Linked DNA regions of Homo sapiens: all the other regions are linked to region 1. Evidence: promoter capture Hi-C in 16 types of primary human blood cells and fetal thymus (Javierre and others, 2016). All regions are on one chromosome and are shown on one strand. Each heading gives the region's core, a stretch centred on a gene start or on the middle of the fragment in contact. The rest is flanking DNA. Distances are from core to core; before and after follow the strand shown.

Region 1 (5,792 bases), core at 857-3,356:
CTTGCCTAGCTAACCGTAACTCATTCTTTAGTTCTCCTTGAAGGTGTCACTTCTTCCAGGAAGCCATTTCTGTCCCTCCCGAGATGGAGTCCCATGTCCCTACCATTTGCTTCCAGGGCACCTTCTCACAGCACTGCATCATGGTTATCTGCTTATCTGCTGGACACCCCTACTCGACTGAGGTCCTTGAAGGAAGAGAGAGTGTATCACTCATCTGCATAGCCTTTGTAACTTAGTAAAAGTGCCTGACATGCTCACTAAACATTTACTGAGTAATTATTTATTTGGGGGCCTTTTACGATCAGAACAATGTGAAGGACACAAAGATGAAAAAGAAACCATCTGCTTCAAGGTACTTACAACTGAAATGTATCAAACAATTACCCAGAAAGTCAAGCACCAACTTAAGTGCTAAAATAGGGGTCCAAGCAACCAACTTTGAAGATTAGGAAGGTTTTAGATTCTGAATGTTTCTCATTCATTGTGTTTTTGAGTTCAGAATCCCCATACTGGAAGGCTAATATGGGGTATGTGCATACAATTTTAAGGACTCACGTTCTTACAACCTATATTAGAATTTGACGCACGATCTTTCTTCTGTCCTTCTTGCAGTTGCCCTAGGAATACATGCCACTTACTCTTAATTGACGTTTATGAAATACCTTGGCTTCATTTGCTGAAAGGCTCTAAGTGTTGAGCATTGTTACTATGTTACAATGGTTGTTTTATTATTAAAGCAGTGCCAAGGAGGTTACACAACAGCTTGGATCAGGAAGTGAAACAAGGGCGGTGATCCCACTGAAGCTACAGGGGATGGGGATTTGGGACGGTAAAATGTTAATTACCCAAGATGGAATGTGGGCTAGAGTCCAGCGTTGTGCTCCTGGAGATCATTTCGGTCGCAAAAGCTCACTGGCAATGGGTCCTAAGCGTCCTGCCCTCCTCTGGCTGAAATGTTGGATTCACTTCGATGAATGCTGCTATAGGGAAAGAACCCAGTGGCCACCAGCCAGGAGCACACGTCTTGCTCAGCATCAACTATCCTGGAAGATTTCCAGGAGCTGAAGGGCTGTTCTCTTTGCATGCAATAAATTATTCATTTCTAAGACGATTTATTCTGTCTCTCTCTTTAGACTTGATTTCTCCTAGTTTTCCAGCTCTTGAGGACTCTCTCCAAAGAATGAGTTGTAGATGGTTGGTCAGGGGTTGCGAGTGGTGCCTAGGCTTCGCATAAAAGGAGGCAGAAATGTCTACCTTAAAGGGGAGAGGAATGGGTCCTGGGGAGGAAGATGTGGTGGAGGCAATGACAACCTTTCCATAGTAAGTCCCCAACAAAGTCACTTCTAGAAACTGACTGAAGACTTTGAGTTCCAAATGAAACGTTTTTAAGATGCTAGGTTGGCTGACAAGTACATCGTCTAAGGTGGAGGCACTAAAGCATAATAAAAAGAGTGAAGTCTCTGCAGTTTGACCCAGGACCAGATGCCAGGCCCACCAACGACTCTGTATCTGGATGACCTTGGGCAAGTTTTCTAAGCTCTCGCCAGCCTTAATTTCCCATCTATAAAAACTGGATACTGCATTACTCCCAGGTTTAACCAGATAATGTTTGTGAAGAAAGCAGCCCAATACTTGGCACAAAATAGGCAAGGGAGTCACTATTATCGTCAACTACTGGCCAAACAACCAGAGTTGACCCCAAATCCCCAGTAAACAATTAACCGTAGCAGAGCGAATCCGGATCTGACGCACCTATTTGCCCAATAAGGTGCCAGGAAATAACACAGTGGAGTCAAACCAATGGTATTAGCCCTTGTTGATGGACGGGCTTTCTTGCTGTTCCACCAATAGCTTGAAGATTTGACTGGGGAGTGACATCCTGACAGTCCAATGACGCACAACCAGCCCACACTCAGCACTTCGGAGGGGATAAATCAAGGAGCCGGCACGTATGGATTCCGTTATAGGGCAGTACTGGTTGGAGAGAGGAGCTTAGGGAAACAGCGCCGAGGCAAGGCACTAATGAGCTAAAAATAAAGAAAAAAGACGATGGTTGCGCCAAGCGACCTCGGCCGCCATCATGCTCTAATTTCCCCTGAGTCTCTCTGGGTCCTCGACCGAGGAAGCGGCCTCTGGGATGCTGAGGGGGTGTGTCCCCACATGATTGGCTCAGGCAGCTCAGCCAATCCTAGCTCGTTAAACGGGAAGCACTTAACCAATGAGGGGCGAAGGCAGCAACGAGGAATTGGAGGGGCGGAACGACAGCTTGACGGGCACAAAAGCCAGCCAGTGAGAGCCGGAAGCATCCTCCCTGCGGCCAATGGAGTGGGGCTCTGGGCGGGCCCCCGAGTGTTTGTGTTGTGGTTTTGGGGGAGGGATGCGGAGGGGAAAGTTTGTTTATTTTGTTTTTAGTTTTTGGGGTCCCCGTGCTGCTGCAAGGCGAAACGGGAGGGAGTGACCCCTGCGCCCCTCAGTCCCCCCTACGACGTCGCCTCCATAGTCTGCGGAGAAGCGGAGACTGCGCGCCTCGCCTCACAGCGAAACGCCGCGCACTCGGAGCCGGCACGGCTCGGCGGTGAGTGAGGTGCGGCGGCCGCGCCGTCCTTCCCCTCCCCCGCGCCCCGCCGGGACGGAGCGGGGCGGCCGGGGGTCGGCGAGGGCGCCCCCGGGGGCGCGCGGCGCGGCCCGGGGCGGTGAGCGGAGGCGCGGCGTGTGCGTGTCCTCGCGAGGGAGCGCGCGTGGGGCGGGGAGCGGGCCGGGGAGGGGGCGTGAGCGCGCGCGGGGCTGGTGCGGCCGGCGGCGCTGAGCGCGCGCTCCGCGGGAGCGGGCGCCGCCGAGATTTGAGTCGAGGGGCGGGGAGGGACTCGGGGCGACGTCCGGCGCGCGGGCCGGGGCGCCCCGAACGGCCGGGCAGGCACTGGCGGGCGCGCGCGCGGCTCCGGGCGTCACGCGCCAGCAGGTGTGAGCTGGGGGAGGGCTTCCGGGTGGGCTGGCCCGGCCGTCGAGTTCGCTTCCCGTCTCCGGGGGGCCTCGGCGCGGGGACACCTTCCCGGCCCGCGGAGGCGCGTCCGCCCCTGGCTGGCGGTGGCAGAGGGAGGCGTCAGGCCTCGGATCCTCGGGTCCCTGCGCAGCGTCCCGGCCTGTGTGCAGGACCTGCGTGACAAGGTGAATGCGTTCCACACCCCTCGCCAGGGCCCTGCGTGTGCGGCCACTTGGGGAGGCGGCTCAGACTCTGGACAAGGAAACGAGGGGCACGGAGAGTGTTTTTACACCTTCCCGTGGTCCGGTGCCCTTCAGTTCCAGACTACCGGTTTATTCGGCTGTAGAGGCTGGACATCCGATCCAGCGAGACACGCTGTAGTGGTTAAAGACGTCCAGTAACGGTCACCTCTAGTCAAGCGCCTTAAGGACCAGCTTATTCTGAATTCTTTGGAATTCAGGTTACCAGCCTGGGACTTTAAGTTCGTGCTTTCTCATGTGTTTTGGCTGTTTTATTACTTTTTAGCATCAGTGCTAGAGATTGAACGAGAGGATGGTGAATTTCAAGTTGGTCATTTGTATTATAATTTAAGCAAAATTATACAAAATTGGTCAAAGATATTTCTTCATAGTGAATAAAACAAGCCAAGAATCAGTGAATGAAACATTAGTGCCCCCACCAACAGTTAAGTATATATATAAAGTGTGTAGAAATGATAGACATTAGCATTTTGTGAAAGTTTACTAATAGAGGTTACTTCTCTCTTCGCTGTGGGAGATTTCAGTAGTATAAGGTTTCTCTTGATTTGGAGAATCATCAGTGATCTTGGCTTCGAAAGTACAGATGTGTTTTGGGTAGTGTTGTGTAAATGCCTCTTATAGAGCGGAACTTTTAGCGCATTGTCTCTACAGCGCGCAGCATTGCTGTAGGCAGGTAGTGGGAGGGCTGTGTAGTGCCCACTTGCACGAAGGCACACTCACCAATATCCAGAATACAAATCAGACTGGCTTGTCCCACGTGGGACGTGGTGATGATGATAATAATACTTTTATATTTTCTTAGTTCTTTACTATTATTAAGGGCTTATCCCAAACACCATTATTTGAGCAGAGTGGTTTCTGATAGGAATTCCGTAGCTGCTTTTCTGTGGTAACATATAAATGTCATGCCCTTGAAAAAGATTTCCCTCATTCAAATGGAAGCACTTAAATTTTTTTTTTTTTTTTTGAGACAGAGTCTCAATTTTTTTTTTTTTTTTTGAGACAGAGTCTCAAAGATTGTGCCAGGCTGGAGTGTAGTGGCACAATCTCGGCTCACTGCAAGCTCCGCCTCCCGGGTTCACACCATTCTCCTGCCTCAGCCTCCCGAGTAGCTGGGACTACAGGCGCCCGCCACCACGCCCGGCTAATTTTTTTGTATTTTTAGTAGAGACGGCGTTTCACCATGTTAGCCAGGATGGTCTCGATCTCCTGACTTCATGATCCGCCCGCCTCGGCCTCCCAAAGTGCTGGGATTACAGGCGTGAGCCACCGCGCCCGGCCTTAAAAATGTTTTCAAGTCGGAGCAATACCACTTGTTGAAATGGCAGTAATAATATTAGCTAACATTTATTGTATGCTTACTCTATGCCAGCCTTTTGACATCTTTTCCCCTAATTCTTAGCCCAAGCCTGTGGGGTAGGTATCGTTACTATACTATGAATGAGAAAAGGGATCTCCAGGAGCCACACAGCTATGCAGTTCCAGGGCATAGGTTTAGTCTCAACGTCTGTCTGGTTTGAGAGCCTACGCGTGTTTCATTTTGCCTCCTCCTTGAATTATCAGAGGGAGAAAGGGCACTGAAAAGTAGAGAGGAATAGAAAAGGAGAATACCACTGATGATTAGGTTGCCCATACCTAACTTAAGAATTTAAATTAGGCTGGGCGCGATGGCTCACGCCTGTAATCCCAGCACTTTGGGAGACCGAGGCAGGTGGATCACTTGAGGTCAGGAGTTGGAGACCAGCGTGGCCAACATGGTGAAACCCCGTCTCTACTAAAAATACAAAAAATTAGCCGGGCGTGGTGGTGGGCGCCTGTAATCCCAGCTACTTAGGAAACCGAGGCAGGAGAATCGCTTGAACCCGGGAGGCGGAGGTTGCAGTGAGCCGAGATTGTGCCATTGCACTCCAATCTGGGCAACAAGAGCGAAATTCAGTCTCCAAGAAAAAAAAAAAGTTTACATTAAGCTCATTCTTGGCTTTTAGAAATTAATAACATTTTTGCAAAAGTACATCTTATTTCTTCCCTGTTTAATTTTTATAAAGATTGTAAAAATACATTTTAGCTCAAGAGTTCAAGGCTTTCAGAGCCCTTTGTGCAGATTGCTGCTCCAGTCCCGGGCTATTGTGTATTGTGATAAATTGTGTGCTCTTCCAGGGACTGTTACTCATTTTTCTATCCAGCACAGTGCTTGGCACATAGTGGGAACACAGAAAACGTTAGTTGACTGACATTTGATTCTAAGGAGCAGAATCAAAGTGTAGATTTCGGATTCATTTTAGTCGTTGAATTGTGCAGTTTTAGTTTAACAGGACAATAAGAAAATGACTAGTTCATGTGCAAAATGCGCGTTTTGAAAAAATACTTAAATGGAGCAACTCATGGGGTCTTGGAAAATTCTGTCAGTTTGCTGGATCTCTCCGTTCTACTATCATGTTTGAGCTTCTGTTCCTCTCACTTCCAGAGTTCTGAAAGAGCAGTCTATGCTGGCTGCTTCCCTTTCTTCACGTCTTCACTACACAGTCATTCTTTAAACTTTTGCAGCCAGATTG
Region 2 (5,792 bases), core at 1,677-4,176, 640 kb before region 1:
CCCCAGCAGAATTAACTGCCCCCTCTCTTGGGCTTCTGGCTCCACTCAGTTTGTCACAGGCCTGATGAGCAAGGATATCTTGATAAAGGTGATAACTGGCCGAAAAGCAGTTGGGGCGCCCAATGGCGCAGCCTTCAGAAGCACCTTCTGTGTTTTTGGAACTGTTGGCAGCATCCCAAGGTGAAATGGTAGAAGCATATGGCATGATCATGGGGAAATGGGTCTGGGGAAGGGAAGAGAAGCCACATATTTGGAGCAGATTCTGTTCCTGTTCTAAAGGCTTGGAAGATGTTACTTTATTGAATCCTTGTAACATCCCTGGGAGGCAGGGGTTTTAAAAACAAAGACAGTGGTGGCCGGGCGCGGTGGCTCATGCCTGTAATCCCAGCACTTTGGGAGGCCAAGCAGGGAGAATCTTTTTTTTTTTTTTTTTTTTTTTTTGAGACAGAGTCTAACTCTGTTGCTAGGCTGGAGTGCACTGGCGTGATCTCGGCTCACTGCAACCTCCGCCTCCTAGGTTCAAGCAATTCTCCTGCCTCGGCCTCCCGAGTAGCTGTGATTATAGCCACACACTGCCATGTCCATCTAATTTTTTTTTTTTTTGAGACAGAGTCTCACTCTGTCGCCCAGGCTGGAGTACGGTGGCGCGATCTTGGCTCACTGCAACCTCCGCCTCCCGGGTTCAAGCGATTCTCCTGCCTCAGCCTCCCAAGTAGCTGAGACTATAGGCACATGCCACCACACCCGGCTAATTTTTTGTATTTTTAGTAGAGACGAGGTTTCACCATGTTGGCCAAGATGGTCTTGATCTCCTGACCTCGTGATCCACCCACCTCGGCCTCCCAAAGTGCTGGGATTACAGGCATGAGCCACCGCGCCCAGCTCGGGAGGATCTTTTGAGCTCAGGCGTTTGACACCAGCCTGGGCAACATGGTGATAGCCTGTCTCTACAAGAATACAAAAATTAGCCGGGCGCAGTGGCACATGCTGTAGTCCCAGCTACCCGGGAGACTGAGGTGGGAGAATCACTTGAGCCCAGAAGCTTGAGGCTGCAATGAGCCATGATTGTGCCACCGCACTCCAGCCTGGACAACACAGTGAGAACCTGTTTTTTTTTTTTTTTTAAATGGTGGGGGTCAGGGAGAGATGGCTTGCAAATGAATGTTTGTTTAATTTTATAAAAAGCAGGCAGGTGCCAGGTGCAATGGCTCACGCCTGTAATCTCGGCACTTTGGGAGGCGAAGGCAGGTGGATCACCTGAGGTCGGGAGTTCAAGACCAGCCTGACCAACATGGAGAAACCCCATCGCTACTAAAAATACAAAATTAGCCAGACGTGGTGGCGCATGCCTGTAATCCCAGCTACTTGGGAGGTTGAGGCAGGAGAATCGCTTGAACCTGGGAGTCAAACATCTCTCTACCAATGGGACCCTGTCAATGGCTTGCTTAGAAGGCAACAACTTCCCTCTGTCCTCCAGATGAATAAACTCCTGCCTGGGGCCCACTTGGTCAGAGCCTGTCCCTACAACCCCTTCATCTCTCTCCTCCAACTCTGTGCAAGCCACAGTGGGCTCCCGTGACAAGTGTGCTTTTTTTTTTTTTTTTTTTAAGACAGAGTCTCACTCTGTTGCCCAGGTTGGAGTGCAGTGGAGTGATCTCAGCTCACTCACTGCAACCTCCACCTCCCAGGTTCGTGATTCTCCTGCTTCAGCCTCCCAAGTAGCTGGGATTACAGGCGTGCACCACCATGCCTGGCTAATTTTTTGTAGTTTTAGTAGAGATGGGGTTTCACCATGTTGGCTGGACTGATCTCGAACTCCTGACCTCAGGTGATCCACCGGCCTCGGCCTCCCAAAGTGCTGGGATTACAGGCATGAGCCACCGCGCCTGCCCCCGGCAGAATGTCTTATATACATAAATGTTGTCCTCTCCAATTAAAATGTTAACATTTTAGGTTGGGCGGGGTGGCTCACACTTGTAATCCCAGCACTTTGGGAGGCCCAGGCAGAAGAATCGTTTTAGGCCAGGAGTTTGAGACCAGCCTGGCCAACATAGCGGTACTCCGTCTCTACAAAAAATGTAAAAGATTAGCTGGGCGTGGTGGCGGGCGCCTGTAACCCCAGCTACTCGGGAGGCTGAGGCAGGAGAATCGCTTCAACCCGGGAGGCAGAGGTTGCAGTGAGTCCAGATCACGCCACTGCATTCCAGCCTGGGCGACAGAGCAAGCCTCCGTCTCAAAAATAACATAACATAACATAACATAAAATAATAATAAAATGAAATGAAATAAAATAAAATAAAATGTTAGCTTTTTGAAGGCCTGTCCTGCTCGCTGCAGAACCCACTATAGAGCCAAGCAGGGTCACCTAGGTAGCATTTGCTGAGTGAATGAATTGTCCTCCCCTTACCAACTGTGTTCACAAAGAACCCTCAGGAGTTCAAGACCAGCCTGGCCAACATGGCGAAACCCCGTTTCTACTAAAAATACAAAAATTAGCCGGGCGTGGTGGCTCATGCCTGTAGTCCCGGCTACTCCGGAGGCTGGGGCAGGAGAGGCGGGCACCTGTAATCCCAGCTACTCGGGAAGCTGAGGAAGGAGAATCGCTTGAGGCCGGAAGGCAGAGGTTGCAGGGAGCTGTGATCGCGCCACTGCACTCCAGCCTGGGTGACAGAGTGAGACCCTATCTCAAAAAATAATAAAGATGGGCGAGGAGCAATCGGCCCCGAGGAAAAGACAAAACAAAACAACAACAACAACAACAACAACAAAACGTGCAAGAGCGCGCCTGCGCACACGGTCCGCTACGACCCCCATCCCTCTTCGGGCGTGGGGTGGCGCTGGGCGCATGCTCCCCGGCAGCGCGGTCATCCTCGCCTCCTTCGGGCCGCTCTAGCCGCCCCACTCGCTGCTCTGCGGGGAGGCGGGCGCTCCCGCAGGGGTTCCTCCAAGATGGCGGCGCAGAGGAGGAGCTTGCTGCAGAGTGTGAGGAACAGGCCCGCTCTCTGGGCTTGGGGTTGGGAGCCTGGGCGGGGGTGCTGTCGGGTGCAGGAACGGCTCCTTCTCCGAGTTTGGACAGCCACCCTCTCCGTGGTGGGGTGTGTCAGCCACCTTCTCCTCTCCTCGGGCTGGCCCCCTCGTTCCCGAGGCCAGGGCGTGTGTGCGCGGCGGGCCCGGCCCCCGGGTCAAGGGCGCCGGGGCTGTGGGCTGCTGCTGCCGGGCGTCGAGGGCGGGAGCGTCCTGGAGCCAGAAGGGAACACGGCGGGCGGCAGCAGAGCTATCCGAGTCTCGAGCCCACTGCGACACCGAGCAGACGTGCAATGATAATAACAGCAGCATCCACAGTGTACCGCTTACTGCATCCCCGGCGTTGTGTTAATTGCTTTACATTTGTCAGTTTCATTTTCGTAGCAGCCCCCTGAGATAGGTGCTACTGTTATTCCTATTTGACAGACTGAGACACTGAGGTGGTCGTTTGCCTAAGGCCACACAAATGGTACGTATTGAGGCAGGATTAAAATCAGGCAGTGTGATTCCAGAAACCCCCTTAACCCCTGGGCTGTACTAAAGGAATGACCAGTGGTAGCTGTCACTGGGTTCTGGTCCTGGCTCTGACTGTGTCTCCCTCAGCCTCAGTTTCCTTCTCCTAAGGCGAGAGCGCTGAGTGGAAGAATTGTCTTCAGACTCATCCCTACCCCCGGTCTGGACCCTCATGGGTTTGGCGCTGTCTTCCAGGCCCTGCGTCCTCTGACGCGTATGTGCACATAGATGCACACACATGTTGGCACCATGGACTACTCTGACCTACCAGGGTAGGGTGCTGGCCTCCTGGGTCCTTCCTATGCATGGCACTGTTAGAATTGTCTATGGACTTGTCTGCCTCCTGTACTAGAAAGTAAACTCCGCCGGGCGCGGTGGCTCATGCCTGTAATCCCAGAACTATGGGAGGCTGAGGCGGGTGGATCACGAGGTCAGGAGATCAAGACCATCCTGGCCAACATGGTGAAACCCCGTCTTTACTAAAAATACAAAAATTAGCCGAGCGTGGTGGGGGCGCCTGTAGTCCCAACTATTCGGGAGGCTGAGGCAGGAGAATTAGCTTGAACACAGGAGGCGGAGCTTGCAGCGAGCCAAGATCGGGCCACTGCACTCCAGCCTGGAGCGACAGAGCGAGACTGTGTCTCAAAAAAAAAAAAAAAAAAAAAACGAAAGTAAACTCCTTGAGGACAGGGACCTGTGATCTCTTGTTTACCGCTGTGTCTCTATTATCTATCACCATGTGCTGGGCACTCAATAAATACATTTGTGAAAGGATGAGTAAAGGTTTGTAGCCAGGTCCAGTGCTCGCCCTTGGCGTCACAGAGGTGAGTAGACATTGGCTCAGGGATAACCTGGAACCAGAGCCTTGAAATTATTCTCCCAGGAGCACAGTTCCCAGGCCTCCCCAGTGGGGATTGCTGTCTTCCCCTCCACACCTTTACTACTCCTTTATTTTATTACTGCTGGGCACGTCTGTCTTGTTACCGAGTTGGCATTGATTTTAGACGGCTGGCCCTCTGCTTTGTAAGTTCCCAGAGGGCAAGGTCCCTGTATAACTGTCCCCACTCTAGTTAGCATTTGGGAAACGCTGGTTGGATTGTGACATTGGGAGGGAAAATTGTAAATGGTGCAGGCTGAGTTGGCTTGCTGAGAAGAGAGCAGCCACCTGGGTCATGTAGAGTAGGTGGCTGCCAGCTTCTCCCCTTCCTAGATGTGATGGAACCAAAGGGAATTGTGTTAGGCAGAAGGCCAGCTCTACTAGCCCCAGAATGTGTTTCTCCAGGTGGTGGTGGCCTTTTTTAAAGCAAGAATAGTTAGCTTTAAACACATTGCATCTTGGTGCGTGGCAAAGGGATGGCAGGGATGTCATCAGAAGGCCCCTCCGCCCTCATGATGATCAGGACATCCCTCTCACAGGTTGTATGGATGTCCAGGTGGTGTGTAGGGCTTGCTGATGTCACATCCACTGTCTCAAGTCTGGGGAGAACAACTCAGCTCAGACACCTGCATTCAGAGATGGCTGTGAGGGCTGCTGGTCTGTGGCTACTGGGCAAATATGAATGAGGCGTGGTGCCCACCCTCACTGCGTTTGTAGATCAGCTTGGGAGGAGCATATGCCACTGATACAATACCTGGGGCACTGTCTTGTTATTGTAGACCTGTGTCAAGAGCCCTGGGCAGACAGCAGAGAATTTTAGAGGCTTTAAAGGATGAGAGGAGTTTGCCAAGCAGAGGAGAGGAGGGCCATTCCAGGAGGATGTGTATGTGTGTTTTCTTGACACGTGTGTTTTTGTTTTCATTTTTCTTCCTAGAGATGGGGTTTCGCCATGTTGCCCAGGCTGGTCTAGAATCCTGGGTTCAAGCAATCCTCCTGCCTTCGCCTCCCAAAGTGCTGGGATTACAGGCATGAGCCACCGCATCTGGCTAAGGACAGGTGTTTAAATATGTGTGCATGTGTTTGTTAAGCTTTTCACAAGTTAAGTACAATTAGTACTACAAGTCTATGTGTTGAGGGGCTGCAGAGTGGCCTGATTGGTCTGGGTCAGTGGAGGTTTGCAGGAATGGCATTTGCAAGGGTATGCTGGGGCCACTTGGTAGATCACTTGGTGGGAGCATCATTGCAGGCACTGTGGTACCTTGAAAGGTCTTTTGAAGCAAAAAGCTTTTTTGTGGGTGTATGGGGAAGACAGGATCTCACTGTCACCCAGACTGGAGTGAAGCGGTGTGATCTCGGCTCACTGCAACCTCTGCTTCGT
Region 3 (5,792 bases), core at 1,258-3,757, 570 kb before region 1:
CATGGGGTCCTGATGGCAGTGGGGGTGAGAGGGACCCTTGCCTTGGGCAAGGCTGAAGGCAGCAGCCTGGACTTTGCCCCTGAAACTCTGAGAAGCCCCAAGGCCGCAGGTGGGTGTGGACTCTGCTGCTGTCACTTGCCAGCTGCGAGTTTGAGGCCCTGTGTGCCTGTGGGGGTGGAATGAAGCGAGGCCAGTAGTGCTACAGTCTTCACATCACCCCCAACCCTCTCACAGCCCCAAGCACCTTCCCTGCACACTGGCCCAGCCCTCACGGGCTCCCACTGCCTCCTGGCTCTGCACACAGCAGGTCTGTGGTCATGTGTGGCCCTGCAGAGGGGACCCTTTTCCTCTCCCTGAGAGATAAAGAGCCCTGTGCCTGAAATGCCACCAGCAGTACTCATTCCTCTGGCTAATCCCAAACATTCACTGAATATTTGCTCTGGGTGCTTCGGGCAGGAGCCACTGCTCACTTCTGGCCTGGCCTGTTCCCCCAGGCCAAGTTTACATCTCTCCATTCCAGGCTTTGTGTGTAAGAGGCAGTCAGAGCCCTCGGGCCCTCCTGAAATGTGCATATGCACCACTAGCCCCGGCTGGGACATCCGCCCTCTGCTCCCTGATAAGGTCCCTCTCTGCCTGGACTGGGGACTGAGGATCCGAGATGGAAAAGCCCCAGCCCAGCGCCCCTGCCTTCCTGGAGTCAGAGAGGCCTGGGTTCTGCTTGTGGTGCGGCCTTCACCAATCACCCCCTCCTCAGGGCCTCCATCTCCCTGCTGGTGTGGAGTGAGGGATGAATTCACAGCAGGGCTTGCCAGGCTTTTTTTTTTTTTTTTTTTTTTAACTGTAGAAGCTTTCCTTCCAACAAAATCTTGCGAGGAGCTCAGTGTCTGAAATTGAAAAGCTGGGAGCATCTTCTTGATTGTGTTTTTTGGGGGCGAGTCCCTGGGCTTTGTTTTCTCTCCCCCTTCACTCCACCTCTCTCTCAGGTCCTGGGGCACCTGGAGGGGAGTTCCAGGGACCTGGCTGGGAAAGAGCTGTCCTCAGTGCCCATGGGACCAGTCCATGGGATGTGTCTGTACATCTGTGTATCGGGCCCTGAGGCCCACCTTTAGCCCACCTCCCCTCCCGAGGTCTCCTTCTGCCAATCACCTGCCTAATGCCCCTGCACCCTGGTGTCAGGCAGCCCCCCAGAGCTGCATCCCTCCCTCCTGTAGTTAACCAATGCTCTATGAGCCTCTCTCAGCCAAGACCTTGGCATCAGCTCACCACTGCCCCGCCCCTGGCCCTCCCCTTCATCACGGGCCGTCTCTCAGGCTTGGCGCCCTGGGATGCTCCCTTGCTCCAGCTCTGTGACTGTCCCCATGAGGGTCCTCCCTCAGTGCAGCCCCATCTCTCCAGCGGTGCTGGCACGATGGACCCGGTTGACTCCCTGCCTCCTGCCCTCTCCGTTCAGTCTAAACTGCACAGTCTAACGTAGGAACCACTAGAGCATGCAGCTATTAAAATTCAAATTAAATTAAGCTGGGTATGGTGGTGTGAGACTTGTCCCAACTACTCACGAGGCTGAGATGGGAGGATTGCTTGAGTCCAGGAATTCACATACAGCCTGGGTAACATAGGTCTCGTCTCTAAAAAACAAAAACAAAAACATTATGGAATGAGCCTCTGGGGATGAGGAGCTGATGTCCTGAATGGACCAGTGACCAGTGCAGGAGGGGTGGAGTCCTAGCAGGGGTAGATCCCAGCTTTGGGAACCAACTTTCCCAGGCACTTGCCGGCCACTCCGTGGGAAAGTCCTCAGGCAGCCTGCAGGGAGCTGGGATCAGCTGATGGGGATGGGTTTGGAGGGGAGAGAGTGGTGCACAGGGACTGGAGGTGGGGGAGGGGTGGGGTTGCCATGGAAAGGGCTCTTGGGATGGGTCTTGGGCTGAGCCTTTGGCAAGGCCTCCACCCTGGAGCTGAGCCAGCAGAGAGTGGGGCTGACTCCATGAGGCCCAGACTCTCGTGGGTATTCTGGTGGCCTGGGCACCCTGTCTTTCCTGAACCCTGCCTGCCTAATCTAAGAACTGCTCCCCTTGTAGCTCTGTCTCTCCTCTGTTGGCCTAGTTTCTTCATCCATGGGTGGGCACAGCAGAAGCTGTCTCACCTGCTCCATGGTGAACGGGATTTGCAAGGATTTGACTCTGGCCATCCAGGGAAGATGGAGTCTTTGACCAGGCCTGGCCCCTGAAGCAGACTTCTTCCTTCTGAGCCTGCTGGGGAAGCAGAATTCCTCGATGCTGGGTGTCATGGTCTACCAGGCCCTCCCTCGCCCAGGCCACTTGTGTTGAGCCTGGAGCAGAACCCCCAGATCTGTAGTCCGCCTGTCAGCTTGGGGAGTCTCCGTTTCCGTCTGTTTCATTCCCATCAGCTGTGTGTGGCTGAGCAAGTCACTTAACCTCTTGAGGCCTCCATGTCCTCATCTGCAAAATGGAGACACACATATCTGCGTCCCCGATGACCACCAGTAGCTGGGATGATACGTCGACTGCAGAGTGACCACTTTGTGTAGGCGTCCCTGTGGATGGTTGTCAGTCAAAGGAGTGAGTCAGATGATGAGAGGGGAGGACAGCAGAGCAGCAGTTGTTTCTTCAGTCTCGCCGGGACTCCAGGATCGGCCATGTTCTGCAGCCACCGCCTCTACCTGTCTCCCCATGTGGGATCCTGAAACCTCAAGCTGCATTTAGTTTCAGAGTCCGGGGAGGTGCTCACTGTCTTCTGACTCCTGAGATGCCGACTCCCTCTGCCATACCCCAGGGAAGGAACCAGTAGCAGAAGCTCCAGGGAAACTGATGAAGGTCAACAGAAGGAAGAACTTCTAGCAGCCCAAAGGGATTGGAATGGGCGGCCCGTGGGAGTGGACATGCAGAGGCACTGGCCTGGGGTGAAGCCTTGGACCAAATTCTTACTTGCAGGCCCTCTGGACCCAGGAGAGGAGTCTGCAGGCCTCGGCTGGGCCGGATTCCGCAGATTCTGGCCTAGGTCCTGAATGCCTGGTGAGTTACTGAGAAAGGCCCTACAGGCTGAGGGTGCCAGTCAGGGTGAAGCAGCCCCGCAATTGGCCCACCTCCTTTTGTACCTTAACAAAGGTGTCTTTGTTACCTTTCTTAAAGGAAATAAAGCCGGTCAGGAGCAAGGCCTGGCATATTCAGGGGGTCATCTGTATTTGGTCGTCCAGCGGGAAACCCAAATGGAAGGAAAGAAAAAAAAAAAAAACCATGCATTTATAGAACCTCTGCCAATGGCCAGGCTCCATGCAGAATGCTTTGACACCGTGGCTCAGCCAGGTCTCCCACAGGACTGCAAAACAGAGGGTGACATCTTTCTTTTAGATCGGAGAAGACTGAGGACCAGAGAAGCTAAGTAACTTGCCAAAGGGCACACAGCAAGTAAGTCATGGCACTGGGATTCAAACCAAATCCTCCAGACTTCCAGTAACAGTGGAGCCGGCGTGTCCTGAGCATCTGTTGTGTGCTTAGGCATGGTCCCTAGCTTTTTGCGGGGATTAACTCACTCAACTCTCACAACAACCCTGTGAGACAGAAACGGTTATACCTCCGTATCGTGGAGGGGGAAACTGAGGCACGGGGAGGCAGAGTGACTTGCCAAGGCCACAAGCAGTGTTCGGATCTGGCCATTGTGGCCACTGGCCTACCTTGTGCCCCAGGAGCTGCTGTACATGGCAGGGATTGCTGCAAAGATGTGCCTCCTGCCTTCTTTTTGGAGGTGGCAGAGCCCTTAGGTCACATGGGGCAGGACCAGGCCGGGTGGAAGGTGAGCACAGGGAGACGGGCTTCAGCGCGAAGCCCTTTCGTACAGTTGAACTAACTCCTGGAGAGGTAGTGCGGGTCCACCCCAAGGTGTACCAGGGCTGGGGGCAGTGGATGGGCTACTTCCTGCCCAGAAGTAGAGACTGAGGTTGTTTCTGGCATCCTCCAAAATGCCCCTCATGGACATTACAGGGATGCCCTGAGTGCCCACTGGGTGTTGGGCCTGCTTTACTGCTGGACATGTGACAGCTGGCCCCTTCTCCCAGTTGGAGGAGTGCCCAGTGGCTGTCCCCCAGCTGAAGACGCCAGACATCAGGTGTTGAGGGGCAGGCGGAGAAGGGGCCAGAGGGTGGTGGACAGGGGAACCGGCTGTTAAGACATGAGCCGTCTGAACCACGGAGGTGGGTGGCAGGGGCCAGGGTGAGGCCAGCCAAGGGCACCCTGGGGACTGAGCTAGGACTCTGGCCAGCACGGGCAAGCTCAGGACCACGGAGAGCTCCACAGGAGCCGCCCTTCACCAAGCGACAGCTGTCAGTGTGAGTCTGCACCTGGGAGGCTGCTACCTGCCTGGCCAGCTCCCACCATCACAGCCAGTGGCCTCCAGAGAGCACCTCCCTTCTCCCTGGCCAGAAGCCCCTGGCTGGGCTCCACCTGAGTCCTGACTATGAGGTCATGGCTGGGTCATGGAGTTTGGGCTCATCAGCTTCCCTCCCTCACAGCCCGTCAGGCTTCCAAGCAGAGCTAGAGAAAAATGGCACAAGAAGTGGGAAGAGGGAGGGAAAGAAGGAAATCTGTCCAGCTCAGACCCTCCAGGCCATGGCCACTGCCTGAGGCCTGCCTGCTGCCATCCTGGGTCAGCCTCAGCCTCCCTCTTCCAGGATCACCTGGCTGCCAGGAAGCACCTGGCCCATGCTCTACCACCTATCCCAACAGACCCAGGACCGGCCAGAGGCGGTGGCCCACGCTTGCAATCCCAACACTGGGGGGCCGAGGTATCACTTGAGCCCAGGAGGTCGAGACCAGCTTGGCAATGTAGGGAGACCTCCTCTCTACAAAAAAATGTTTAAAAAATCAGCCGAGTGGTGGCACACACCTGTAGTCCCAGCTACTTAGGAGGCTGAGGTGGGAGGATCACTTGAACCCAGGAGTTTGTGGCTGCAGTGAACCTTGACCACCCCACTGTACTCCAGCCTGCCTGGGTAACAAAGAAAGACAAAACCCTGTCTAAAAAAATTTAAAAAGTCACAGGCCCCTGGGGCTGGGCACAACTTACGGGGTGTCTGGCAGCGGGGTGGGGGTGGAGCCTCAAGCCCCCCTTTTCTTGGAGTCTCAGGAGGCGTGGCTTCCCAGCCCCTGGCCCCTCCCCACAGCAGGTTTAGGTTTTGCTCCCTGTTGCCCTGAGATAGGACAGCACCCACCTAGGCTTAGGCCCTGCCAGGGACTCACCTCCAAGCCTCTGCTTCTGGTGTGTCCCCACCCAAAGGCTCACTCTTTCTCTTCTCTGCCAGGCTGGGGAATAATAATAGAAGAGCTAGCACTTATCATTGAGTGCTTACTGTGTGCTAGGCATCTCATCGATGGGAAAACAGAGGTACAGAAAAGTGCTTAACCTGCACAAGGCCACACAGATAGGAGTGGCAGAGCTGGGATTTGAACTGGGGAGTCCGAGCACATGGAAGTGATGGTGAGGGCATTGTGGAGGCCCAGGGCAGTGCGGGGTGATCTCATTGAGCACCTGCTGTGTACATTCCCTGCTCTAGGGAGCTTATATGCCAGCTGGGAAGACAGACATCTAGGGGAAAATGAGCCTAGTGTTGACTGGGGCTGGGGCCGTGCATAGTTCTCTCTGATTCTTACTTGAAATAAGCAGGGCAGAGATAATGATACCCATTTTATACATGGAGGAGTTGAGGCTGAGAGAGGTCAGGTGACCTGCTCTGTTCATAGTGACTATAGGAACATTGATGATGATGAGGAGCTGGGGGA
Region 4 (5,792 bases), core at 985-3,484, 550 kb before region 1:
GGACTTGTCCAAGCAGAAGGCAGGACCCTGGGAAATGCATAATGTAAGGACATCAATAATAGTATTATTTTTTTTGTAAGGGAAAATCAATATGTACATTCTGAAATCATTTTCTCTGTAAATGGTTGGATTTCATTTCACCCTTAAAGGGATGCTTAAAGGAGAAGATAATATTAATAATAAAAACAGCTACAAAGTCTGAATTGTGTGCATGTGTGGCCGGTTTGTGGGTGCTCTGGGGCAGGGAGGGGTGGGAACAGGTGGCTCTGGTCTTGCTAAAGACACCCTTACTTCTGGATCCATGGGGTGCAAGAACTTCCCAAGGACTGGATGGCCAGTGGGGAGAGGGGGCTGCAGGGAGCACCTTCACTTAGGGATGACGTGTCCCCCAGCCGCAGGTGGAAGCAGCTGGGAAGTGGAGGATGCTGGGCTGAGGTCTGGTGGAAGGAAGCAGAAGTGAACCAGGCTCCTAGGACCAGGGGCACCCACCCTCCTGCAGGTGGGCAGGGACCCTTTTGGGGATCTGGATGAAGGCTTTGGTGCCTCTGCAGAGAGGGGGTGGTTCTACAATTCTGCTCTGGGGCATCAAAATAAGTGCTCCTGCCTCAGTAGTTTTTCCTGTCAGGTTCTAAATGCCTCATCCAAGGTCACAGCCTTGTAGATTCTGGACCTGGACTCTCAGCACCGGACTCTCTGGACTCCCAGGAGCAGGTATCTCCCTCCCATGTAGCCAACCTTGAACTTGTGCTTGGACAGCACCTGGAGCCTTGGGATGTCAGGGCTTCCAAGGAGCTTCCTCTGGGCCGGGTGGGCACTGGAGTTGTCCTGGGGGTCCCCTGTGTGTGTCCTAAAGACAGTCTCAGGCGGTGGGAACAGACACTTTTTTTTTTTTTTGAGACAGAGTCTCACTCTGTTGCCCAGGCTAGAGCGCAGTGGCGCGATCTCAGCTCCTGCAATCTCCACCTCCTGGGTTCAAGCGATTCTCCTGTCTCCAAGCGATTCTCCTGTGTCAGCCTCCTGAGTAGCTGGGATTACAGGCATGTGCCACCAGGCCTGGCTAATTTCTCTATGTTTAGTAGAGACGGGGTTTCACCATGTTGGTCAGGCTGGTCTCGAACTCCTGACCTCGTGATCCGCCCACCTCAGCCTCCCAGAGTGCTGGGATTACAGGCGTGAGCCACCGCGCCCGGCTGAACAGACACCTTTTGAGCTCTGCCATGGTCCCCTGTTGGGTGGCTGTGCAACCTCCATGTTAGATGGAGAGACGGAGGCCCAGAGATGGAAGGAGGTGTGACCACAGTCCTGGTGGCCAAAGCAAGGGCTCATGTTTTCTGACCACTCGCAAAGTGTCACGCATGCATCAGTCTGACACCTGCGGGCTGGGACTGCTTGGACTTCTGGCCACACTCACAAAGCCCAGAAAGGTACCTGCTGCAGGTACTTGGAGTGGGGATGGGGTGAGGGTTGAATTCCACAGGGTTGAGGAAGTGGAGAAGATGTAGACACCCTACCTAGCCAGAAGAGGGCATTATTGACCCACATGCCGTTTAAGATCAAGTTAACAACCCTCAAATCATGTCCTATGGTGAATCATCATCATCATCATCATCATCATCATCATCATCAGTATTTACAGACATTATTGATTAAGTGCCTATTTTGTGCCAAACTCTGAGCTAAAAGACATCCCTCCCCATTATACCCATTTTCCACGTCTGTAAAAGGACCCCACAGCACCTGTGAAGTCTGCTGCTAAAAATGAACCACCTGGATCGAATCCCAAGGAAACAGTACACAAACCGGAACTGAGAGACAATCTGCAACAGACTAGCTTCTCTCATATGAATGCATTTCTTGCAATTCTGTTTATCTGAAGTGTTTGCAGAAAAGCCCAACCCCGCATCAGTTTCACCAACCACTTTCCAAATTCCTATCCTGGAATTTGGATGGCCAAGAGCTTCTAGAGGCAAAACATCAACAGTGACTCAAATGTTTGTCATGGTGGCCTCCACATGTAGCCTGGTTTTCCCACTCATCCCAGCTGACCAACGTGTGTGAGCCCAGCTGAGACCAGAAAAACTGCCTAGTCAAGTCCAGCCTAAATACTGATCCAGTCTCATGAGCCCAATTGCTGCTAAGTTTCTTGGTTTCTTACACAGCTTAATTGTGGCCATAGATAACTGGTACAGTTTGCTTTCATTTAATGACAACCTAAACTAGTGAGGCAAACTAGAAAAACCAACCCAAACCAGTGAGGCAGGCAAGGAATTTACTGGTTTACTAATGGTAAAGTTCAGGGGTAATGTCGGCTTCGGGTACAGTCACATTGTCATCCAGCTCTCTTGTGGCTGAGCACAGCTCCACTTCCTAACTTGCATTGTCCCAAGTCTCAGACAGGTTTACCCCTCATGCCTGCAAGACGGCTGCAGCAGCTTCAGGCTTCACCATCTCAGCTTTACGCTCAGCACAACAGAAATAGAGCTCCTCTCTCTCAGAGTCCTGGGTGTGGATCTCACTGACTTGATTTAGGTCACGTGAATATCCCTGAATGCATCAGTGAGACTGGAGGGGCTTGGGATGGAATCTGCCAATTCACGTAGATCAATCAGAGCCCTGTGTCTACTGGCTGAGGAAAAGGGAAGGTGGTTCTCCAAAAGAAATCTGGGGCCCAGATGGTACCTTTGGCACAGCCTCAGCTGCCTCCAACAGGCCTTTCACCAGCCACCAGCCCTTGGTCACCTCCCTCTCCTGGGTCCTCATCTGTAACACAGGACCGTCATAGGACAGACCTCCAGCGGTGATTGTGAGGATGCTCAGAGCTTGGAGCAGAGCCTGGAGCATGGTGAGAGCTCCATGAGCGTGAGCACTCAGCATCGTGGCCCCATTTGCACCTTCCATCTCCTTGCATGTGATGCGTGGGTCATGCCTCCTTTCCTGGGTCTGCTTCCCTTAGCCTCTGTGACTCATCTGTCTCGTGGCTCTCCTCTTCCTCCTCCCTCTATGACATTTCTTCCTGGTTGTCTTCCTGGTTCCTTTTTCCCCACGCACCCCTTCAATAAGGGGGCTCCCCAGGGCTTGGCCCTGGATCCACTCTCTACCTGCAGTTCTCAGTGCTTACCAACGTGGAGCTGGATCCATCTCTCCAGGGAGTCCTCTTTCCTAAGGACCCAGCCCATGAAGCCCGCTGCCTGCTGCACGAAGCCCCCAGGTGTCAATGTCACCTCAAATACCATGTGGCCTAAATGGAACTCGGCTTCCTATAAAAATCTGAGCCCATAAATTCCTTTGTTTGTTTGTTTGTTTGTTTGAGATGGAGTCTCACTCTGTCACCCAGGCTGGAGTGCAGCGGCATGATCTTGGCTCATTGCAACCTCTGCCTCCCGGGTTCAAGTGATTCTCCTGCCTCAGCCTCCTAAGTAGTTGGGATTACAGGTGCCCGCTACCAAGCCCGGCTAATTTGTGTATTTTTAGTAGAGACGGGGTTTTACCATGTTGGCCAGGCTGGTCTTGAACTCCTGACCTCAGGTGATCCACCCACCATGGCCTCCCAAAGTGCTGCGATTACAGTTGTGAGCCACCCTGCCCAGCCAAATTCCTTTTTTAAAAAGACACCACCAGAGGGCAGCAGGTATTCTCTGGCCCAAACTTCCTCCTCTGCAAGGCCTTGCCTACAGGGTAGGTTGCCCCCCAGTTATTGGCCCAACCTGGCCCAGACTTGGCACTGCTATTAACTGTCACATGGGACCCCCTATGGTGTAATTAGAACCTGCTACCTGTCCTGCCAGGCTGCCTTCTGAAGACCCAGCATGCCTCACAGCAGGCCCTGGTTAGAGCACTGGGCCTTCTAGAAGGCCACACGGGACAAGGCCAGGCCCTCATCCACATGAGTGTCCACAAAGTATTCAAAGGTAACAACCTAAACCGGGCTCGGTGGATCATGCCTGTAATCCCAGCACTTTGGGAGGTCGAGGTTGGCGGATCACCTGAGGCCAGGAGTTCGAGACCAGCCTGCACAACATGGTGAAACCCTGTCTCTACTAAAAATACAAAAATTAGCTGGGCGTGGTGGTGGGCGCCTGTAATCCCAGCTAGTCGGGAGGCTGAGGCAGGAGAATTGCTTGAACCCGGGAGGTGGAGGTTGTAGTGAGCTGAGATCATGCCATTGTACTCCAGCCTGGGCAACAGACTGAGATCCTGTCTCAAAAAACAAGAACAACAACAACAACAACAGCAAGACGAGACACATTTTTCTGCTTTCTAGGAGCTCAAAAGTGTTTGAGAGTAGGCGGTGTTTCCCAGGCTGGGCACCGCTGACACCGCAGGCCAGTTCATTCCTTGCTATGAGGCTGTCCTGTACAATGTAGGGCGCTGAAGCAGCGTCCCTGGCCTCCAGCCACTCGATACCAGTGGAACCCACCTCTGCAAATGTGACAACCAAAAAATGTTTCCAGACGTTACTAAATATTGCCTGGAGTGCAAACTCACTGGAGGAAGAAGCAGACGGTTGTGGAGCCCTGAGCATGTACAAGGCCAGCACTTTGCATACATTGCCTCATGGAATCCTCTGGGGGCGCTGCCGGCACTCACTGGAGTGTCAGCTTTTCTCCCACGGAACTGAGTGATATTCAGAGCTGGGCCCTTCCATTTTCCAGCCTGCGAAGACTAAAGGGGGGATCCCAGGATTTAGGGAGATTAAGGGCATGAATTGCTCAAAGGCATGCAGCTCCTAACCAGGATTTAGGACCAGGGGCTCCAATACCCTTCTCATTGTGCTGCATTGTCTCCTAGTGGGAGGGCCAGGCACAGCTGTGACTGGCATCTCACTTGCTTTTCTTTCTTTCCTTTTTTTTTTGAATCTCACGCTATCACACAGGCTGGAGTGCAGTGGCACGATCTCGGCTCACTGCAACCTCTGCCTCCTGGGTTCAAGCGATTCTCCTGCCTCAGCCTCCTGAGTAGCTGGGATTACAGGTGCACCCCACCACGCCCGGCTAATTTTTGTATTTTTTAGTAGAGATGGGGTTTCTCCCTGTTGGTCATGCTGGTCTTGAACTCCTGACCTCGTGATCCGCCCACCTCGGCCTCCCAAAGTGCTGGGATTACAGGTGTGAGTCACCGTGCCCGGCCTCTTTTTTCCTTTTCTTTCTTTCTTTCTTTTTTTTTTTTTTTGAGACAGAGTTTTGCTCTTGTTGCCAAGACTGGAGTGCAATGGTACGATCTCGGCTCACCGCAACCTCACCTCCTGGGTTCAAATGATACTCTTGCCTCAGTCTTCCAAGTAGCTGGGATTACAGGCATGTGCCACCACGCCTGGCTAATTTTGTATTTTTAGTAGAGATGGGGTTTCGCCATGTTGGCCAGGCTGGTCTCTAACTCATGACCTCAAGTGGATCTGCCCACCTCAGCCTCCCAAAGTGCTGGGATTACAGGTGTGAGGCACCTTGCCCGGCTTCATCTTTCTTCTTTTGCGCTTCCACTTGTATATTTGCTTCTTCCTCCACTTAGCTCTCGTGGCACAGAGGTTTCCAAGAAGATGGTGCCAAGACCGAGAGACTCTTCCAGTCTTGACCAATGAATTCTCCATGAGGGCTGACACCAGCCCATATGGGCCTTTGTACTCATTGGCAAGGGCATCCCTTCCTCCAGACATTTTACTTCCATTTACTGGAAAACTGCCATCGTGCACTGATTTCGTTAGAATGATAAACTGCCTTCTGCCAAAGAAATGTCGTAAGAAACATACAGTTCTACAAGGTCTTGATGTGAAAGGTGCCCCTTAGATGTGGTACCTT
Region 5 (5,792 bases), core at 1,037-3,536, 530 kb before region 1:
CTTTATAACCTCTGTGAAGGGGTAGAGAGACCTGCATTATAACCCCTGTGAAGGGGTAGAGACCTGCATTATAACCCCTGTGAAGGGGTAGAGACCTGCTTTATAACCCCTGTGAAGGGGTAGAGACCTGCATTATAACCCCTGTGAAGGGGTAGAGACCTGCATTATAACATTGTGAAGGGGTAGAGACCTGCATTTTAACATTGTAAAGGGGCAGAGAGAGGGCTGTTTTGCATGGTGGGGTACTTCATTGTAATACAAAAAAGGACTGACACTGAGCTTAATGCTTTCTTAATCTCACTAGCTTGGGGAAAGTTTTCCTACAATACCCAAGATCAGCCCCTCCTCCTTGCATCCTGATCTATCATGGGACATTGTAGCTCCCTCCAGACCCTAAAGCATGCAGTGCTGGAGGCAAGAAGATTTGGGTTGCTGGAACTCACAGAGTACCCTGTACTTGTTGGGGTTTGGCTTGTTAGGGGAGGGAGGTTCTTGGGGTCCCAGTACTTATGGCCGTGTTCTGTCTTCATTCTCAGATGAGCAATGGCAGGCGCTGGTGAGCGCAAAGGCAAGAAGGATGACAATGGCATTGGCACGGCCATTGACTTTGTGCTCTCCAATGCCCGGCTGGTGCTGGGGGTGGGTGGAGCGGCCATGCTGGGCATCGCCACGCTGGCAGTTAAGCGGGTAAGTGCATGCAGCCAGGGCTGGGGGTGGAATGTAGTGGTATGGTCATAAGATGTAATGTTTTATAGAAAGAAAATGTCGAAGCGTTCTAGGAGGAAATGATCGCAATGATAAGTGAAAAAAACAGGTTTCAAAAGTATGTATAGAGTGATCGTCATTACATGCATCTAGAAAGAAACATACCAGATATTACAAACAGTTTTCTCTGGGTCATGACGTGGATTATCTATGTCTTATATCATGTAGTCTTCCCTGAGATTTTCTGCGTGGAGCAAAGTATTCTATAATCTAAAATAAAAACAAAATTACTAAAAGAACTTACTAGGACAGAGCTTCTGGGGAGGAAGTAAATTGGAAGGAAATAGGGAAAGAGGGCAGGTTTATGTCCTGTGTCCTCTCTGCTATTTCAGATGTACGATCGGGCGATCAGTGCCCCTACCAGCCCCACCCGCCTGAGCCATTCGGGGAAAAGGAGCTGGGAAGAACCCAACTGGATGGGCTCCCCACGACTGCTGAACAGGGACATGAAGACGGGCCTGAGCCGGTCCTTGCAGACCCTTCCCACAGACTCCTCCACCTTCGACACAGGTGAGAAGGGCTGCTGCCCCTCCTGGGACCTCTCTGGACTTTCAGTACCACTCCTGCACTCAGCAGATGTTTCCTGAGCACATCTGTGCCAGGCACTGTGCCAGCACTTGCCCTCCATGCCAGGCCCTTCTTTCTGGGGCTGAGGCAGCTGTGGACTGAGCAGGCATGGGCAGAGCTCACGTGCCTCTCTCTCTTGCCTTGGCAGATACATTCTGCCCGCCCCGGCCCAAGCCAGTGGCCAGGAAGGGCCAGGTAGACTTGAAGAAGTCACGACTCCGCATGTCCCTGCAGGAGAAACTTCTTACTTACTACCGGAACCGGGCAGCCATCCCTGCTGGAGAGCAGGCTCGGGCCAAGCAAGCTGCTGTGGACATATGTGCCGAGCTCCGGAGCTTCCTGCGGGCCAAGTTGCCTGACATGCCGCTTCGGGACATGTACTTGAGTGGCAGCCTCTACGATGACCTGCAGGTAACAAGGTGGTTCTCATGGTGGGTGGGGTTTGAGTGCTGAGCACCATAGTGTTGTTGGCACAGATCAGTGTCCCAGGCTTGCCAGAAAGACTGAGGTCTTACAGCTTCCGAATCCTGTGTACCTCAGCAGCATTTGGAGATCCATGCTTGTTATTCTTTTTTTTTTTTGAGACGGAGTCTCACTCTGTCGCCCAGGCTGGAGTGCAGTGGTGCGATCTCGACTCACTGCAAGCTCTGCCTCCTGGGTTCAAGCGATTCTCCTGCCTCAGCCTTCCGAGTAGCTGGGATTACAGGTGTGTGCCACCACTCCTGGCTAATTTTTTTGTATTTTTAGTAGAGACGGGGTTTTGCCATGCCGGTCAGGCTGGTCTCGAATTCCTGACCTCAGGTGATCCACCCACCTCGGCCTCCCAAAATGCTGGGATTACAGGCGTGAGCCTGGCCTGTTATTCTTTATTCTTGTGTCTTTAATCGTTTCTCATGTTTTAGTCCTACTTACAACTTCTAGGAAGCTATAAGAGGCCTCCTCCTTCCTATATTCTTGTGCCCATCTCTCCTTTCTAGTTTTCTCACTCTGTGTAGATTGCATGGTGACATGAAAGAATTTTTTTTTTTTTTTTTTGAGATGGAGTCTTGTTCTGTTGCCCAGGCTGGAGTGCAGTGGCACGATCTTGGCTCACTGCAACCTCCGCCTCCTGGGTTCAAGCAATTCTCCTGTCTCAGCCTCCTGAGTAGCTGGGATTACAGGCACACGCCACAATGCCTGGCTAATTTTTTTGTATTTTTAGTAGGGGATGGGGTTTCACCATGTTGGCCAGGCTGGTCTTGAACTCCTGACCTCAAGTGAGCCAGCCGCCTCAGCTTCCCACAGTGCTGAGATTACAGGCATGGGCCACTGCGCCCGGCCTAGAGTTCCCATTCTTGCTGGGGGGGAATGTAAGATGGTGGGAACCGTCTTAGAGGAAGCATGTCTTTTGAACAGAGTAAACCCTCAAAACCCTTTAAATTCTGCCCTGACAGGTGGTGACAGCTGACCACATCCAACTCATTGTGCCCCTTGTGCTGGAGCAGAACCTGTGGTCATGTATTCCTGGTGAAGACACCATCATGAATGTCCCTGGCTTCTTCCTGGTGCGTCGTGAGAATCCAGAGTACTTTCCTCGTGGGAGCAGTTACTGGGACCGCTGTGTAGTAGGGGGCTACCTCTCTCCAAAGACAGTCGCAGATACATTTGAGAAGGTAGTGGCTGGCTCCATCAATTGGCCAGCCATAGGGTCCCTCTTGGACTATGTGATCCGCCCGGCCCCACCCCCAGAAGCCCTCACACTGGAGGTGCAGTATGAGCGTGACAAACATCTCTTCATTGACTTCCTGCCATCAGTGACCCTCGGTGACACAGTCTTGGTGGCCAAACCACACCGGCTAGCCCAGTATGACAACCTGTGGCGGCTGAGCCTGCGTCCCGCGGAGACGGCACGCCTGCGGGCTCTGGACCAGGCTGACTCGGGCTGCCGATCTCTGTGCCTCAAGATCCTCAAGGCCATATGCAAGTCCACCCCGGCTCTGGGCCACCTCACTGCCAGCCAGCTAACCAATGTCATCCTCCACTTGGCCCAGGAGGAGGCTGACTGGTCTCCGGATATGCTGGCCGACCGTTTCCTGCAGGCCTTGAGGGGACTTATCAGCTACTTAGAGGCTGGAGTCCTGCCCAGTGCCCTAAACCCCAAGGTGAACTTATTTGCAGAGCTCACCCCTGAAGAAATAGACGAATTAGGATACACTCTGTATTGCTCATTGTCTGAGCCAGAGGTGCTGCTGCAGACGTAGGGCAGGTGAAGGCCAAAGCGGGTGTTGGTGGTCAGGCCCTGGATTCTCCGTTAGATACACTTGGCTACCTAGTTGGTGCCTCACAGGGTTCCTGCTGCCTGGTGTCTTGCTGATCATCACCCTGGTCACTTCATGCTGATTAGAATGACATCTCTTTCGTCTCCTATTTTGTTACCCAACTCTTCCTATTTTTGTTACCAATCACTGTGCTCTCTGCCGCCCCCTGGCTCCAGGCTAATTTTTCTGGAATGAATTGAGAAGGTGGCGTGCTGGCCTGAGCTGATGGACCACTTGGTGTTTTGCGTTTTGGCCCATGTTTGCTGCCTCTATCTGGTCTGCCTTGCCCGTTTGCCTGTTCCTATTCAGTGTCTTTTCTATTTTTTCCTCTCTCGTTCATGCCTTCTGTTTTGCTCTTGTCCCTGGAGCATATCTGCCTAATTAAGATGTTGCCTTTTAGTTGAATGCCACTGAAGAGCTGTGATAGCATGTTTCAAAGCTGAACTCTACAGAGCGAGTGCTGAGACAGTATTTAGGGTTTCTGGGAGTGAGGCTGGTAGAAGAGTTGGCCTTTGACCACGGTTCCTGGAGTAGAAGTCCATCCTCCCCCCAACCTCCTGACCCATTCATAAATGCTGAGAATGTCTCTCATGGGAACACTGTTAATGACCCACACAGGATAAGCTGAATGCAAAGTTATTTGCAGGTTGAATTTCTTGGTGGCTATTAGCAGAAGTGCAGAGTAGGGAACCAGAGCTGGTTAAGGGCCTAGTGAAGGGTTTGTGTGCCCAGTGTCTGCTCGTCATCTGTGGCTGCAGGGGTCAGACAGACAAGGATGGGGACTGCCAGGGCACCACTTCATCATGAATGCTGGTTTTCACACCTTTTCCTTATTTTATTGCCAATCAGGACAAGGCCTTGAAGGAACGCAGCCTTAGACATCAGGTGAGGATGATGGAGGTAGACAGTCGACTGAATGTCAGCTGGAAAATCCAGTCACTAGTTGGGGTTTGGTGGCCATGTTTTCTACCCAGACAGGCCCTGCTTTTCTAGGATGTGGCCTTAGAGCAAGAACAGACCCAACAGCCAGCCCTTCATCCTCCAGCGTCTGCCATAGGAATGTGAGAGGGGTGTTTGCTGAGCGCTCCGGGCACGGCCAGAGGGCAAGTGAGCATGCACGGACCTCTTCCCCCTGTCCTGTTTCTCACCCAGCACCTGGGGAGATCGGTGCTACCAAGGAAGAGAGCACACAGATAAGACAGAGGGGAGGAGGTGGGCATTTCCTACATTCCTCCTTGTTTGCCGCTGCTGAGATTGCAGTATTTATTGCAATGTAAATGTATCCTGAAGGTGGGGAGGAATGTTTAATCTACCATGTCCGTGTGTCATCTTGGTTTGTGTTTTTCCCTGTTTGTAGCAAGACTCTGATGATAATTCTGTTTCTCATCTGCCCATTCAGTATTTTGTTTTCCTTCCGTCAAGTTGTCTTATTTTTTCAATGACTACCTCTCCATCATTGAGGTTCTGGTGAAGCTCTCTGCAGCTGTCTCATTCCTTCCCAACGATAGTAACAGGAAATGACTCTTTAGCATCGATACCTCAACATCAATTTAGGGTAGAGATTCCTGCCCCTCTTTTGTCACAGATTAGGAAATTGAGAACTAGGGTTAACCTTGACTATATTTAGAGGTCTTTTTGCCTCTTTTCCCCTTAACAAGGATTTCTTATGGTGGTTTCAGTTTCATTTGCATAAAGGTATTGAGAGGGAACAAAAAACATAAAGCTGAGAATCTTGAGAGAGCTCATCTACCCTGTCTGTTGGTCAGACTCAAATGAGAGTTAAAAAAAAAAAAAAAAATCTGTATGCCTGAGTACCATCCTGGATGAATCTAGAAGGTATGGGGTAGAGCTTGACAGGGTTCCTGTGTACCCACTGGGTATCCGTTAGAGGTAAGGGAGAGGAGAGGATTGATAGAGTGTTGCAAAAGTATAGATTATTCATTGAGATAAAGGATTTGGTTTCCCTGCCATGAGTATTAAAAAAATTTAAGTTTTCCCAAGCTTGCATCTCTGACCAAATTTCACATAAAACATTGGAAGGAGGCTGGGTGCGGTGGCTCATGCTTGTAATCCCAGCACTGGGAAGCTAAGGCGGGTGGATCACTTGAGGTCAGGAGTTCGAGACCAGCCTGGCCAACATGGTGAAACCCCGTCTCCACGAAA

Evidence for each region. Contacts are between HindIII fragments. The CHiCAGO score rates a contact against its expected background, and 5 or more counts as called.
Region 2: a contact is called between the fragment with the promoter of TAB1 here and the fragment with the promoter of TNRC6B-DT in region 1, in 6 of 17 cell types (total B cells, naive CD4 T cells, fetal thymus and 3 more). The highest score is 9.9, in total B cells.
Region 3: the fragment with the promoter of MGAT3-AS1 here is called in contact with the fragment with the promoter of TNRC6B-DT in region 1 in 6 of 17 cell types (M2 macrophages, total B cells, M1 macrophages and 3 more); the score reaches 6.0 in M2 macrophages.
Region 4: a fragment that was not itself captured here is called in contact with the fragment with the promoter of TNRC6B-DT in region 1 in 11 of 17 cell types (activated CD4 T cells, total CD4 T cells, naive CD4 T cells and 8 more); the score reaches 8.6 in activated CD4 T cells.
Region 5: a contact is called between a fragment that was not itself captured here and the fragment with the promoter of TNRC6B-DT in region 1, in 2 of 17 cell types (activated CD4 T cells and total CD8 T cells). The highest score is 5.8, in activated CD4 T cells.

What each region holds. Positions count from the first base shown.
Region 1 is chr22:40,042,424-40,048,215 of GRCh38, forward strand. TNRC6B-DT (TNRC6B divergent transcript) reads right to left here and starts at 2,107. Exons shown (of 1, transcript NR_163486.1): 1 at 707-2,107. FAM83F (family with sequence similarity 83 member F) reads left to right here. Exons shown (of 5, transcript NM_138435.4): 5 at 1-1,111. It also overlaps a transcript of TNRC6B not described here. RefSeq lists enhancers at 1,102-1,749, 1,831-2,130, 2,441-2,560 and silencers at 2,861-3,080, 3,091-3,160, 4,447-4,665. The HindIII fragment of the contact is 12,286 bases long and covers 1-5,792 here.
Region 2 is chr22:39,396,854-39,402,645 of GRCh38, forward strand. TAB1 (TGF-beta activated kinase 1 (MAP3K7) binding protein 1) reads left to right here and starts at 2,927. Exons shown (of 11, transcript NM_006116.3): 1 at 2,927-2,982. The coding sequence starts at 2,950. RefSeq lists an enhancer at 2,866-2,985 and a silencer at 3,146-3,285. The HindIII fragment of the contact is 4,460 bases long and covers 1,041-5,500 here.
Region 3 is chr22:39,474,315-39,480,106 of GRCh38, forward strand. MGAT3-AS1 (MGAT3 antisense RNA 1) reads right to left here and starts at 2,508. Exons shown (of 2, transcript NR_126469.1): 1 at 2,144-2,508; 2 at 1,493-1,625. All of the region lies in intron 1 of MGAT3 (beta-1,4-mannosyl-glycoprotein 4-beta-N-acetylglucosaminyltransferase), which reads left to right. RefSeq lists enhancers at 1-494, 4,132-4,633. The HindIII fragment of the contact is 5,409 bases long and covers 846-5,792 here.
Region 4 is chr22:39,491,992-39,497,783 of GRCh38, forward strand. It overlaps MGAT3 (beta-1,4-mannosyl-glycoprotein 4-beta-N-acetylglucosaminyltransferase), which reads left to right. Exons shown (of 2, transcript NM_002409.5): 2 at 1-203. Among named protein-coding and RNA genes, the nearest start is that of MIEF1, 7.4 kb to the right of the region's middle. RefSeq lists silencers at 3,631-3,690, 3,781-3,880 and enhancers at 3,959-4,459, 4,276-4,325. The HindIII fragment of the contact is 8,247 bases long and covers 1-5,792 here.
Region 5 is chr22:39,510,752-39,516,543 of GRCh38, forward strand. It overlaps MIEF1 (mitochondrial elongation factor 1), which reads left to right. Exons shown (of 6, transcript NM_019008.6): 3 at 537-687; 4 at 1,098-1,275; 5 at 1,481-1,743; 6 at 2,766-5,792. The coding sequence starts at 544. The coding sequence ends at 3,572. Among named protein-coding and RNA genes, the nearest start is that of ATF4, 6.9 kb to the right of the region's middle. RefSeq lists an enhancer at 1-350. The HindIII fragment of the contact is 6,684 bases long and covers 1-5,628 here.